2 separate regions of the Homo sapiens genome follow, and region 1 is linked to region 2. Evidence: promoter capture Hi-C in 16 types of primary human blood cells and fetal thymus (Javierre and others, 2016). All regions are on one chromosome and are shown on one strand. Each heading gives the region's core, a stretch centred on a gene start or on the middle of the fragment in contact. The rest is flanking DNA. Distances are from core to core; before and after follow the strand shown. Region 1 holds the start of JHY (junctional cadherin complex regulator). Region 2 has its middle 31 kb from the start of SNORD14E.

Region 1 (5,947 bases), core at 100-2,599, 140 kb after region 2:
TTGTCTCTTATTTTTAAAATACATATTGCATTCTGCCTTATTATTTTAATTGTTGCTTTTTTAGGATGTGCCAAGAAAGCAGCAAATCTATCAAATACTAACACATTTTAAGTAAAAGAGATTGTTTAACACCGGTTTTACTGGAGGAGCTAAGGTCACTGAATTTGAGATCCTGAAGAGCAAGCTTAAGCGTTATAGTGCAACTTAGAATTACTCTTAAAATAATTCAGTCCCTTGAACTTCTCTTCTTAAATGAAATAGGCTAAGCTTTCTTGGAATGAATAAAAAATAAAACAGTAACCACAGAAGATAATTTTGCTGATGTTAGCAGATTCCTGAAGTTTGCTAAAGTATGCAAAGAGCAAAGCCAAACGCCACAAAAGCTGGGTTTTCTGTGGAGGCCTGATCTTACCAAAACATGGGGTGGAAGAAGGAACAGCTGACAGCTTGAATAAGTTAGAAAGTGGGCGTTTAAATTTCATGAATGTGGCTCCCTCCTCCCGTCCAGTGAAAAAAAAAAAAGGTTGTGCCGCTGAAATTTCTGACCAAGAGAGGTGACTAGTCTCCTGAATAAACAAGACAGCGATAGATCCGATGGCACCTAGGGACTAAGAAGCGGCCAGCTCCCCAGGGATCCCTGCAGTGGGTCTAGTCCACTAGCATGGGACAATCGAACTTTCTCCTGGAGGGGAAAAGGAACCCTGCTTGGGCTCACCAAGATGAATCGTAAAGAAAAAGGAACGAACCCTGGTTTGAAACAGGCCGGAAGCTGCCCAGGGGAGGCGTTCGGTTTTCTACCTTTGCTTGTTCCTGAGGAACAAGGCCTGTCACAAGGGGCGTTTGGAGGTCCAGGAAGTGACAAGTCGGCGGGCCTGGTGCCCGGGACCGGTCCTAATTGACCGGGAACAGGGCTGCTCTGGGTGCCCGGGCGCCGAAGCCTCGCATGGCGGCCCCCCAGCCCCTTGTCGCGGCCTCGCCCCCTTGTCGCTCCCCACTCCGTCCCGAAGGCTCCCGCGCCGGCTCCTCCCCAGCTTGCTTGGGTGGTTTCCTGCCGTCCCCATCCCCAGTAAGCCCTTCCCGTTTCCCTCCCCGGGCGCGCCGCCCACCCCAGATCCGGGAGGCCACCGCCCGTCACCTGCCCGGCGCTCCTCCGCGGCCGCGACCCGGACGGGCCCCGCATCCTCCCGCGCCGCCGCCGCCGCCGCCCGGGCCCCCGCCCGCCCCGGCGCTGCCCTGGAGACCGCAGACAACACAGACGCCGGCGCCACATGGGCGGGGCAGGACCCGACCTAGGATCCCGCGTCCCGAACCGCACCCCCGGCCCTGGCACGGAGGCTGCAAACGGCCGTAATAACGACATCGGGGCAGAGCCGGAGGAGCCCGAACGCCCCGGGAGAGGCTGCCTCGCCGCCCGGACTTCCCAGCGCCGGAGGGCAGAGGCCACCCGGGGGAGGAGATCTTTGCCACAAATAAAACTACTAAAATACGCGAGGAACTGCTACAAATCAAGAAGAAAAGGAACCCAATTAAATAATGGGTAAATGGAAAGGTATTTCACAAACACACGAGAAATCTAAATGGCCAATAAATATCTGTTTATTGAAATGATGCTTTAATTCATTAATAATCAGAAGAAGGCCAATTAAAACCACAGCGGATAATACCACACTCACCATAAGTTGAGTCGAAAAGTCCAAAGTTGAAACGTCTGGCAGCGTCAGGTGCTAGGGAGGACGTAGTGCAAAGAACCGTCACCTTCTGCGGGCGGACGTGAGAACCGATGCAACCAACCATTTTGGAAAATGGTTTGACATTAGCCAGGATATGTATGCCTTGGGATCCAGCAATTTCACTTTTAGGTATTTACCCTAAGAAGTGCGTGCTCCTGTGCATGCAAACTGGAAATAACTGAACTATCCATCAAAAGAATGGTTAATTAGATTATGCTATTGCCTATACTGGCATACTACATAGCACTGTAAATGAATGAAATACAACTATGTGTAACAATATGGAGGCATACTAAAAACACAATTTTGAACAACAACAAAAACCCAGAAAAAGTACATACTGTATGATTTTTGTATATAAAAAACAGGCTAAATTACACTCTACAGTGATTGTGGCTCCATACTTAGTGGAGGAAACTATGAAAAAAAGCAAAAAAGCAATTTTATGGGAAACACTACCCACTTAGTGATTCCCATCAAGTTAGGATTGTGGTCGGTTCTGGCAGGTAGGGAGAAGAATGTTTTTGAGACTGTATTTCCTGACCTTAATGATGGTTATATAGATGTTCATCTTGTAAAAATTCATTAAGCTGTACATTTATGTATGGGTAGAATATTTCACTATCAAAAAAGGTTTCAAAAAAGAATAAAGAAAGGAAGCATTAGGAATTATCTTCACATTAAAACAACAAGTAGATTTGAATAACTACCTTCAAAGATTGGTTTGAGGCCAGGTGCAGTGGCTCACCCTGTAATCCCAGCATTTTGGGAAACCGAGCTGGAGGATTGCTTGAGCCCAAGAGTTCAAGACCAGCCTGGGGAAAATGGCAAAACCTTGTCTCTACGAAAATTTTTAACAATTAGTTGAGCGTAGTGGCGCGTGCCTATAGTCCGAGCTACTTGGAAGGCTGAGGTGGGAGGATCACCTGAGCCCAGGAGGTTGAGGCTGAAGTCAGCCAATATTGTGCCACTGCACTCCAGCCTGGGTGAGAGTGAGACCTTGTCAAAAAAAAAAAAAAAAAAAAAAGAGAATTCTTCGGCCAGGCACAGTGGCTCATGCCTGTAATCCCAGCACTTTCGGAGGCCTAGGCGAGTGGATCACCTGAGGTCAGGAGTTCAAGACCAGCCTGGCCAACATGGCAAAACCCCGTCTCTACTAAAAATACAAAAATCAGCTGGGCGTGGTGGTGCACGCCTGTAGTCCCAGCTACATGGGAGGCTGAGGCAGGAGAACTGCTTGAACCGGGGAGGCAGAGGTTGCAGTGAGCTGAGATGTGCCACTGCAATCCAGCCTGGGTGACAGAGCGAGACTCCATCTCAAAAAAATAAAATAAAATAAAAAAAGAATGCTTCAATACCAGTTGCCTCATTAATGATAGGAAACACAGGAAATTGGAAAATGTCTTTACTACCCAGCTTTAGCACTTTTTATTCTGTTTTTTATTTGAGTTAGTTTTTTTTTTTTTTTTTTTTTTTTTACTTTTTTGGCAGCAGGGACCTTGTCTTATGAGTACACAGTAGGACCTCAATGTCTGTAGAAGAAATAAAAGCAACGTAGCTGAAACCATTAGTGTTATTCTGCCCAGTATATTATACAAGGTATTATTATAGCAACTGCAAACATGCAAGCAAATTTCAAGCAAAAGGATTTAGTCCTAATAGTGGCTTCCAGAATATGTTATAGAATCAATGCTGAGTCATTCACACTTGTCTACTTTTGATGCTGTGGTTCTTTAGACTCTTCCAGTGTTTTCTGCACTATCCAGAAGAGATTTTAACTGGCTTTTCTGAAAATTAGTGGTCCCTACGTGATTCAGGAGTCTGTCAATCCAGCAGCTACTTGCAGAGACTAGTCACACATAGAGCGTGGGACACTCTGGGCTTGATCTTCCTCCTTCTCCCCTTGTAATGGCTGTCCTGAGTATCTGGAGTGACTAAAGGGTGGAATAATCAACACGAGTGGTAGTCAGGGTCAGTGAGAAGACAGAAACCATGCCAGTTAGTATAATGGAAATAATTTAATATGAAGATTTATTAACTGAAAAGTTGAAAAGGGAACACAAGTGTCATAGAGGTAGTAAGTACAGGAAGCAGCTTCCACCTCTGTGGCTGGGGAATCACAGGAAAGAATTATTCACACTTAGAAGTATTAACACTGAAATTATTAACACTCAGAGCTGGGACCCAGGCCTCTCAGGAGGGTGAAATCCCAAGCTAGTGGGTGCTGGTGTCTTTGAAAAGGAATCATGAAGCTGGTTCTGAGAGTGCTGGGAAAACTGGAATCAGCTACTGCTGCTGAAACCAACTGAGCTGCTGGAGTGAAGAGACGTTGTCAAGGTGACCTCGAGAGGAAAAGGAAGGAGCAGTCCCTTTTCCAGTCTCCAGGCTTGGGGTCTCCCTCTACTGTCCCCTCCTGGCAGAGTAATACAAGGAGCCGGCTGGCAAAGAAAAATGAGGTTTGTAGGGGTTGCCCCAGCATCACGACCAGAGTATATGAGTGAAGCTGAGAGACAATGGTTTAATAAGCAGCACACTAATGCTCTGCTTTTCAGAATTCTTAAGGATTACAGAGTGCATGCAAACAAAATAAAACCATAAAGTGCATTGTTTTCATCTGCTGTTATGGTAATAACATTGATAATTTACATATGAATAGCACTTCACAGGGTCTGCAAAGTGCTTTTGCATATATTATCTTTTAGAATTCAGCTGTCAACCTGACCCTGAACTAACCAAAATACGCAGAATAGGAAAAACAAGTCAAAAAGCGCTTAAATACATGGGTTAGTAATACTGAACTGAGTTTACTCCTTTTCCACCCCATGCCACCCATTCATGCAACTCCCTTCTTTCTGTTTCCCTCTCCTACACATCACTCATGCTCTGTTCGTGAGGTCCTTCCTCTGCTCCATTTCCTTTTTGGTCTTACCCCTCCTGAGTCCACCAGACCTATGTCTAGCTCAGCAGCGTCTCCTCTAGCAGGAATTTTGTGGCAGTTCCCCCACATTGTCTGATGCTTCTTGGACCAGGGTGCTTCTCAAGCTGGAGCAGTTTTATCCTTCACGGAGAGTTGACAACATCTGGAGGCATTTTTTTGTTGTTATGACTTAAGGGAGTACTACTGGCGTCTAATGGACAGAGGCCAGAGATGCTGCTAAACATCCTAAAATGCACAGGACAGTCCCCCCACCCCCCTGCCAAAATTATGTGGTCCAAAATGTCAATAATGCCGAGGTTGACAAACTCTGTGCTAGGCTAATGGCCCTTGGTCTGTGGTCTCAAGGCACCCAACTGCATGCCTCTAGCTTTATACATATGCTTGTACAACACTGCATTGAAATTACATGTTTATATTTATGTCACCTCCTTACTAAACTATGAGCTCCCAGAGAACCAGAGAACAAGGACAAACGTAGTGAATGGCACCTAATAAATCCTCAGTAAATGTTGAAAAAAAGCCACAATATCCTTAGACTTTAGCACATGATTGGGGAGTAGATAAGTAGTCAGTCCCTTTAATAGAACTGGTGAGAGTGGCCAGTCAAACCTTGTAACAAGGATATACTCATATTTGGCATATAACTAGGTTGATCAGATAATTTATTAAAATCCAGGATAGCCAGGTGTGGTGGTACATGCCCTATAGGTCCAGCTACTCAGGAGGCTGAGACAGGAGGATCATTTGAGCCCGAGATTTCAAGGCTGCAGTGAGCTATGATTGCATCACTGCACTGCGGTGTGGGCAACAGAGTGAGATCCCACCACTAAAAAAAAGAAAAAGAAAGAAAAAGCCAACTAGGATACATTCAAGAATTTTTTTTAAGGATGCTATTTATTAATTACACTGGGACAATAGGTATACACTGAAATTGTCCTGGGTAGCCAGGCAGTGTAGTCATTCTACATATAACTGTAATATGTTTAATTGTCTGGTTTCTTCACACGTAGGGTAAATCAGAAAGGGTCAAGGAGGGCACTCTCAGGGCAGAAAGAAGGGGCAGTACCAGCAAGAGAAGTGACCAAAATATCACAAAAGCAAGAGATGTTCAAACAAACAAAGCAACCTGGGTTCATTTGGTGTAAGGAACAAACAGCCTTATTCCTGAATATCCTGTGTGAGAATCACACTATTATGGCAAGTGCCAAGATTAATTTTCATAATGATTAACTTCTTGAAACTCATATAGGGTAAGTCAGCTTCATAAATATTGACTAGA
Region 2 (5,503 bases), core at 1,666-4,165:
ACCTGAGGTCAGGAGTTCAAGACCAGCCTGGCCAACATGGCAAAACCCTATCTCTACTAAAAATATGAAAATTAGCTGGGCATGATGGCAGGTGCTTGTAATTCCAGCTACTTGAGAGGCTGAGGCAGGAGAATCACTTGAACCTGGGAGGTGGAAGTTGCAGTGAGCTGAGATCTCGCCATTGCACTCCAGCCCGGGCAACAGAGGGAGACTCCGTCTCAAAAAAAAAAAAAAAAATTAGTGCCAGAAAACAAAAGACAAGTACACATGGGAGGGAAGAAGTAAATTCTAGAAAGTATAGACCAGTATTCTTGAAATTGATCATGGCAAAACTCCAGAATACATTACAAAAACAATGTTTTGTAAGTCTTTGAAAGAGGTTTGTCATTCATTTAGCATGAAGTATAATTTCCATTTTGTCTGTGATCAAACTGGCTCATCAGGGACGTGCTGTAGAAACAAGGTGATTGAAGAGAATAAATGATAGGTCATTTATGAAAGCTCTTGACACACAGCAGAGGCACAGTAATTACCAGTTGCTCTCCTTCAGGCATTCATAATAGTCATCAGAGGATGGGCGTGGTGGCTCACACCTGTAATCCCAGCACTTTGGGAGGCTGAGGCGGGTGGATCACCTGAGGTCAGGAGTTTGAGACCAGCCTGGCCAACATGGTGAAACCCCCGTCTCTACTAAAAATACAAAAATAAGCCAGGTGTGGTGGTGGGTGCCTGTAGTCCCAGCTACTCAGGAGGCTGAGGCAGGGGAATCGCTTGAACCCAGGTGGCAGGCTTCAAAACAAGCATATGAAAAGATGTTTAATATCATTGGCCATAAGGGAATTGCAACCCAAAACAACAATGAAGTACCATTACACACCAATCAAGATGGCTACAGTAAAAAAGACTACTAATAATAAGTGTTAGCAAAGATATTAAACATTTGAACTCCTCATACACTGTTGGTAGGAATGTAAAATAGTGCAGTCGCTTTGCGATTCCTCAAAAAGTTAAACATAGCGTTACCATATGACCTAGAAATTCCACTCCCAGGTATGTACCAAGAGAAATGAAAACACACATCCACACAAAAATGCATACATGAATGTTCATAGCAGTGTTCTTCATAATAGCCAAAAAGTATCAACGCTCCAAATGTCCAACTATTGAATGGATAAATAAAATGTGGCATATCCATATAACGGTATATTAGTCAGCCATAAAGTAATGAAGTACTGATACATGTTGCAACATAGAAGAACCTTGAAAACATTATGCCAAGTGAAAGAAGCCAGTCACAAAAGACCATATTGTATGATTCTATTTCTATGAAATGTCTATAGGCAAATCTATAGAAATAGAAAGCAGACAGGTGGTTGCCTAGGGCTTGGGGGAGGGAGTTTGGGGAGAAATATGGAGTGACTACTAATGGATATGGGATTTTGCCTGGTTGACAGAAATGTTCTAAAATCTATTTTGGCAATGGATGCTCAGCTGTGGATATACTAAACGCTATTCAACTGTACATTTTAAAGGGGTGAATTGTATGGTACGTGCCTAACATCTCAATAAAGCTGTTGAAAAATTCTCTTCTCATAGTGCTCATATCTTAGTGGAAAGCAAAAGGATTCAACCTTCTAAGGATCTTTCCAATCTGTCCACTTCTCTTTGTCCAGCACGTTACCATCTCCTCTTTGGATCACCACAAAAGCCTCCCGCCTCTTCTGGCTCCAGTGTGGCCTGCTGTGAATCTCCTCTATAAATCTCCACTTTGCTGCCTTAGAAATCTTTCTGAAGGGCCATTGAGATGCTCCTCCTGCCTCCATCTCACCACGGCTTCCACAGCCTTAAAGGTGAAGTCCAGGCTCTTTCACTCCACTGAAAAGGCCCTGTATGATCTGGTCCCTACTAATCTCTGACTTCATTTCTCACCACTCATCACTTGGGCCACGAACTCTTTCAGTTTTGCAAATCTCTTTGCCCTGTCTCAATTCCAGGCTTTTGCAAAGCCTGATTGTTCTGCCTTTTGGGTCTCAGCTCACATGCCACTTGTTCTGGAAGCTTTTTTCTTAAATACTCCCCGTCTTCACACAGTAGAGCCCTGCCCCCGCAACAGGTGTGTGCCCATTCATTTCCTAGACTTACTGCGTGCCAGGCACCTTTTTTTGTTTGAGACAGGGTCTCGCTCTGCCACCCAGGCTGGAGTGCAGTGATGTTATCGTGGCTCACTGCAGCCTTGACTTCTCAGGCTCAATTGGTCCCCCAGCCTTAGCCTCCCAGGTAGCTGGGACTATAGTGCATGCCACCATGCTCAGCTAATTTTTTTTTTTTTATTTTACTGTAGAGACATGGTTTTACCATGTTGTCCACGCTGGTCTCAAACTCCTGAGCTCAAGCGATTCACCAGGCACCATTCTAAGTGCAACGTTATAAAATTAACTCCTTTAATTTTCACAACAACCATATGATGTAGATACTATTATTATTCTTATTGTACAGATGAGAAAATTGAGGCATAGAGAGGTTAAGTAACTTTCCCAAAGTCACACAGCTGGTGATGGAGCACGGATTTGAACCCAGACAATATGGCTCTAGAATTTGTGCTAACTGCCATGTTCTGTGGCCTGAAATTGCTTAACACATCTTGGCACTTATTATACACTGTAATTGACTCTTTAATTATATCTCCATGTGACTTTTAGTTTATGGGAGGTAGGAATTATGTCTGGCTTTTTCATTATTGTGTTCCCAGCATGAGGCCTAGCCCATAGTTTTTTAATTAAAAAGAAGAATGAACAAACTAATTAATTAATTAAGATAGAGATATGTGAGATGTACAAGAAGAAAGTTATTGGATTTCTAGCTCATAGAAGGACAATGTTCTGATTAATTGATATTATGTTAAAAGTTCTCTAACGTACAGGATACATATTTCTTGAGAAATTATATTCTGGTTAAAGTGCCTTATACACAGTGGATGGTTCATAATTCTTGCTTAGTTTTTTACAACTTTTTATTGTAAATTATGTAAGATTTACAAAAATAGTACAAAGAATTTCTATATCCTCTTTACCTAACTTCTCCAAATGTTAACATATGATATAATAACAGTACAAAGATAAAATTGGGAAGTTAACATTACTACTTAATTCATTGCTATCTCATTTAATTCTCATTATCTGTTTCAATACTGTCCTTTTGTTTTTTGAGACAGAGTCTTGCTCTGTCGCCCAGGCTGGAGTGCAATGGCACGGTCTCGGCTCACTGCAACCTCCGCCTCCTGGGTTCAAGCAATTCTCCTGCCTCAGCCTCCGGAGTAGCTGGAATTACAGGGGCCCGCCACCATGCCTGGCTAATTTTTGTATTTTTAGTAGAGATGGGGTTTCACCGTGTTGCCACACTGGTCTTGAACTGCTGAATCTTGTGATCCGCCCACCTCGGCCTCCCAAAGTGCTGGGATTACAGGCGTGAGCCACTGCATCTGGACTCAATACTGTCCTTTTTATGATCCATGATCCAAACCAGGATTACACATTGCCTTTATTTATTAGCCTGTTTTAAGCTGGGACGATGTCTCAGTTTTTCTTTATCTTTTCCAACCTTGACACCTTTGAAGAGCAGCTGTCAGTTATTTTGTGGAACATCCCTCCATTTGGGTATGTCTGCATTCCTTGCAGACATTAAATTCAGGTTATGCATTTTTGGTAAGGATACCACATAAGGGATGCCATGTCCTTCTCAGTGCATCATATCAGGAAGCACACAATAAGCTTTAATCTTGGTTAAGGCTATATATGCCACATTTCTACATTGTGAAGTTATGACATTTCTCACTGTAATTAATAGGCATCTCATGGAAAAATACTTAGAGACTAAATAAATATCATGTTTCTGGTAATAATTTCATCCATGAATTTTAGCATCCACTGATACGTTCTTGAAAAACAATTTTTACTGTGATCTTTGCCATTGGTGACTTGCTATTTGCATCACTCCTTCTGCATTTATTAATTGGAGTATTACAGTAAGAAAGAACTTTCCTTTCTTCCTCATTTATTTGTTTATTCAATTTTTTATTTAAATAAGTATGGGCTCATGAATATTGCTTTTAATCTGTGAGTGAACATTATTATCTTTTAAACATTTTTGTTGTTCAGATTGTCCCAGATCTAGGAGTCTTACCAAGTTGGCTTGTGTCATTTCAACATGTGTCCATCATTTTTTGAGCACTTCCTTAGTTACTAGCTCCACAAGATGTCCTAAGTTCATTCTGTTCTTCCCTGCCCCAGCCGTATAATCAGCTATCTGTTTAAGTAGACCGGGTTCCTTTTTACTGGAGAATAATATTTAGAAAGAAAGATCTGCAGTGAAATCCCGTCTCTACTAAACACACACACACACACACACACACACACACACACACACACACACACACATTAGCCGGGCGTGGTGGTGGGTGCCTGTAGTCCCAGCTACTGGAGAGGCTGAGGCAGGAGAATGTCGTGAACCCGGGAGGCGGAGCTTGCAGTGAGCCGAGATCACGCCACTGCACTCCAGCCTGGGCGACAGAGCAAGACTCAGGCTCAAAAAAAAAAAAAAAAAAAAGATCTGGGCACTAGATGCTTACTGCTACTGGGGTGTCATTGTTTCCTCCCTCAGTGATCAGGGCTAGGAAATATACGTATGTGTACACTTAAACATGTCTTTACTTATTTCCCTGTCTCTCTATTAAAAACTATGACTTTGCCGGGTGCAGTGGCTCACGCCTTTAATCCCAGCACTTTGGGAGTCCGCGGTGGGCGGATCACGATGACAGCAGTTTGAGATCAGCCTGGCCAGCATAGTGAAACCCTGTCTCTACTAAAAATACAAAAATTAGCCGGGCGTGTTGGCGCACTCCTGTAGTCCCAGCTACTTGGGAGGCTGAGGCAGGAGAATTGCTTGAACTCGGGAGATGGAGGTTGTGGTGAGCTGAGATCTCACCACTACACTCTAGCCTGGGCAAAAGAGAGACTCTGTCTGAAAAAAGAAAAAACAAAAAACAAAAAACAAAAAAAACCTATTATTTTATATTGATACCTCCAGTTCCATTCCAGCTCTCAGGGTTCATTCTATTATTTCCCTTTCTTGTTTTTAATTCCTTTCTCTGACAGTAAAAAATTCGGTGGTTATTATTCACAATGTATTTACTTATTTGTTCAACACTAGATTACACATAAAACAGTTTTAGAATTTCCAACCTACAGCCTTGTGAAAAACAAATTTATTAAATACAGTAAAATTTGTGTGCTCTTTGCGTTTAGAGTACATAGTTAAATAACAGTCCAAAGTTACTTAATTCTTTTTTCTCACCTCTTTTATTGTGGTTATGTTATAAACCTGTAATAAATTGAATGCATTTTTTTTTCTTTTGAGACGGAGTTTCGCTCTTGTTGCCCAGGCTGGAGTGCAATGGCGCGATTTCGGCTCACCGCAACCTCCGCCTCATGGGTTCAAGCGATTCTCC

Evidence for each region. The method cuts DNA at HindIII sites, captures the fragments that hold promoters and counts their contacts. A CHiCAGO score of 5 or more calls a contact.
Region 1: the fragment with the promoter of JHY here is called in contact with a fragment that was not itself captured in region 2 in 15 of 17 cell types (M2 macrophages, endothelial precursors, naive CD4 T cells and 12 more); the score reaches 11.8 in M2 macrophages.

What each region holds. Positions count from the first base shown.
Region 1 is chr11:122,878,161-122,884,107 of GRCh38, reverse strand. It overlaps JHY (junctional cadherin complex regulator), which reads right to left and starts at 1,349. Exons shown (of 9, transcript NM_024806.4): 1 at 1,136-1,349. RefSeq lists a silencer at 871-1,230. The HindIII fragment of the contact is 12,251 bases long and covers 270-5,947 here.
Region 2 is chr11:123,024,139-123,029,641 of GRCh38, reverse strand. No RefSeq gene overlaps it. Among named protein-coding and RNA genes, the nearest start is that of SNORD14E, 31 kb to the left of the region's middle. The HindIII fragment of the contact is 1,709 bases long and covers 2,061-3,769 here.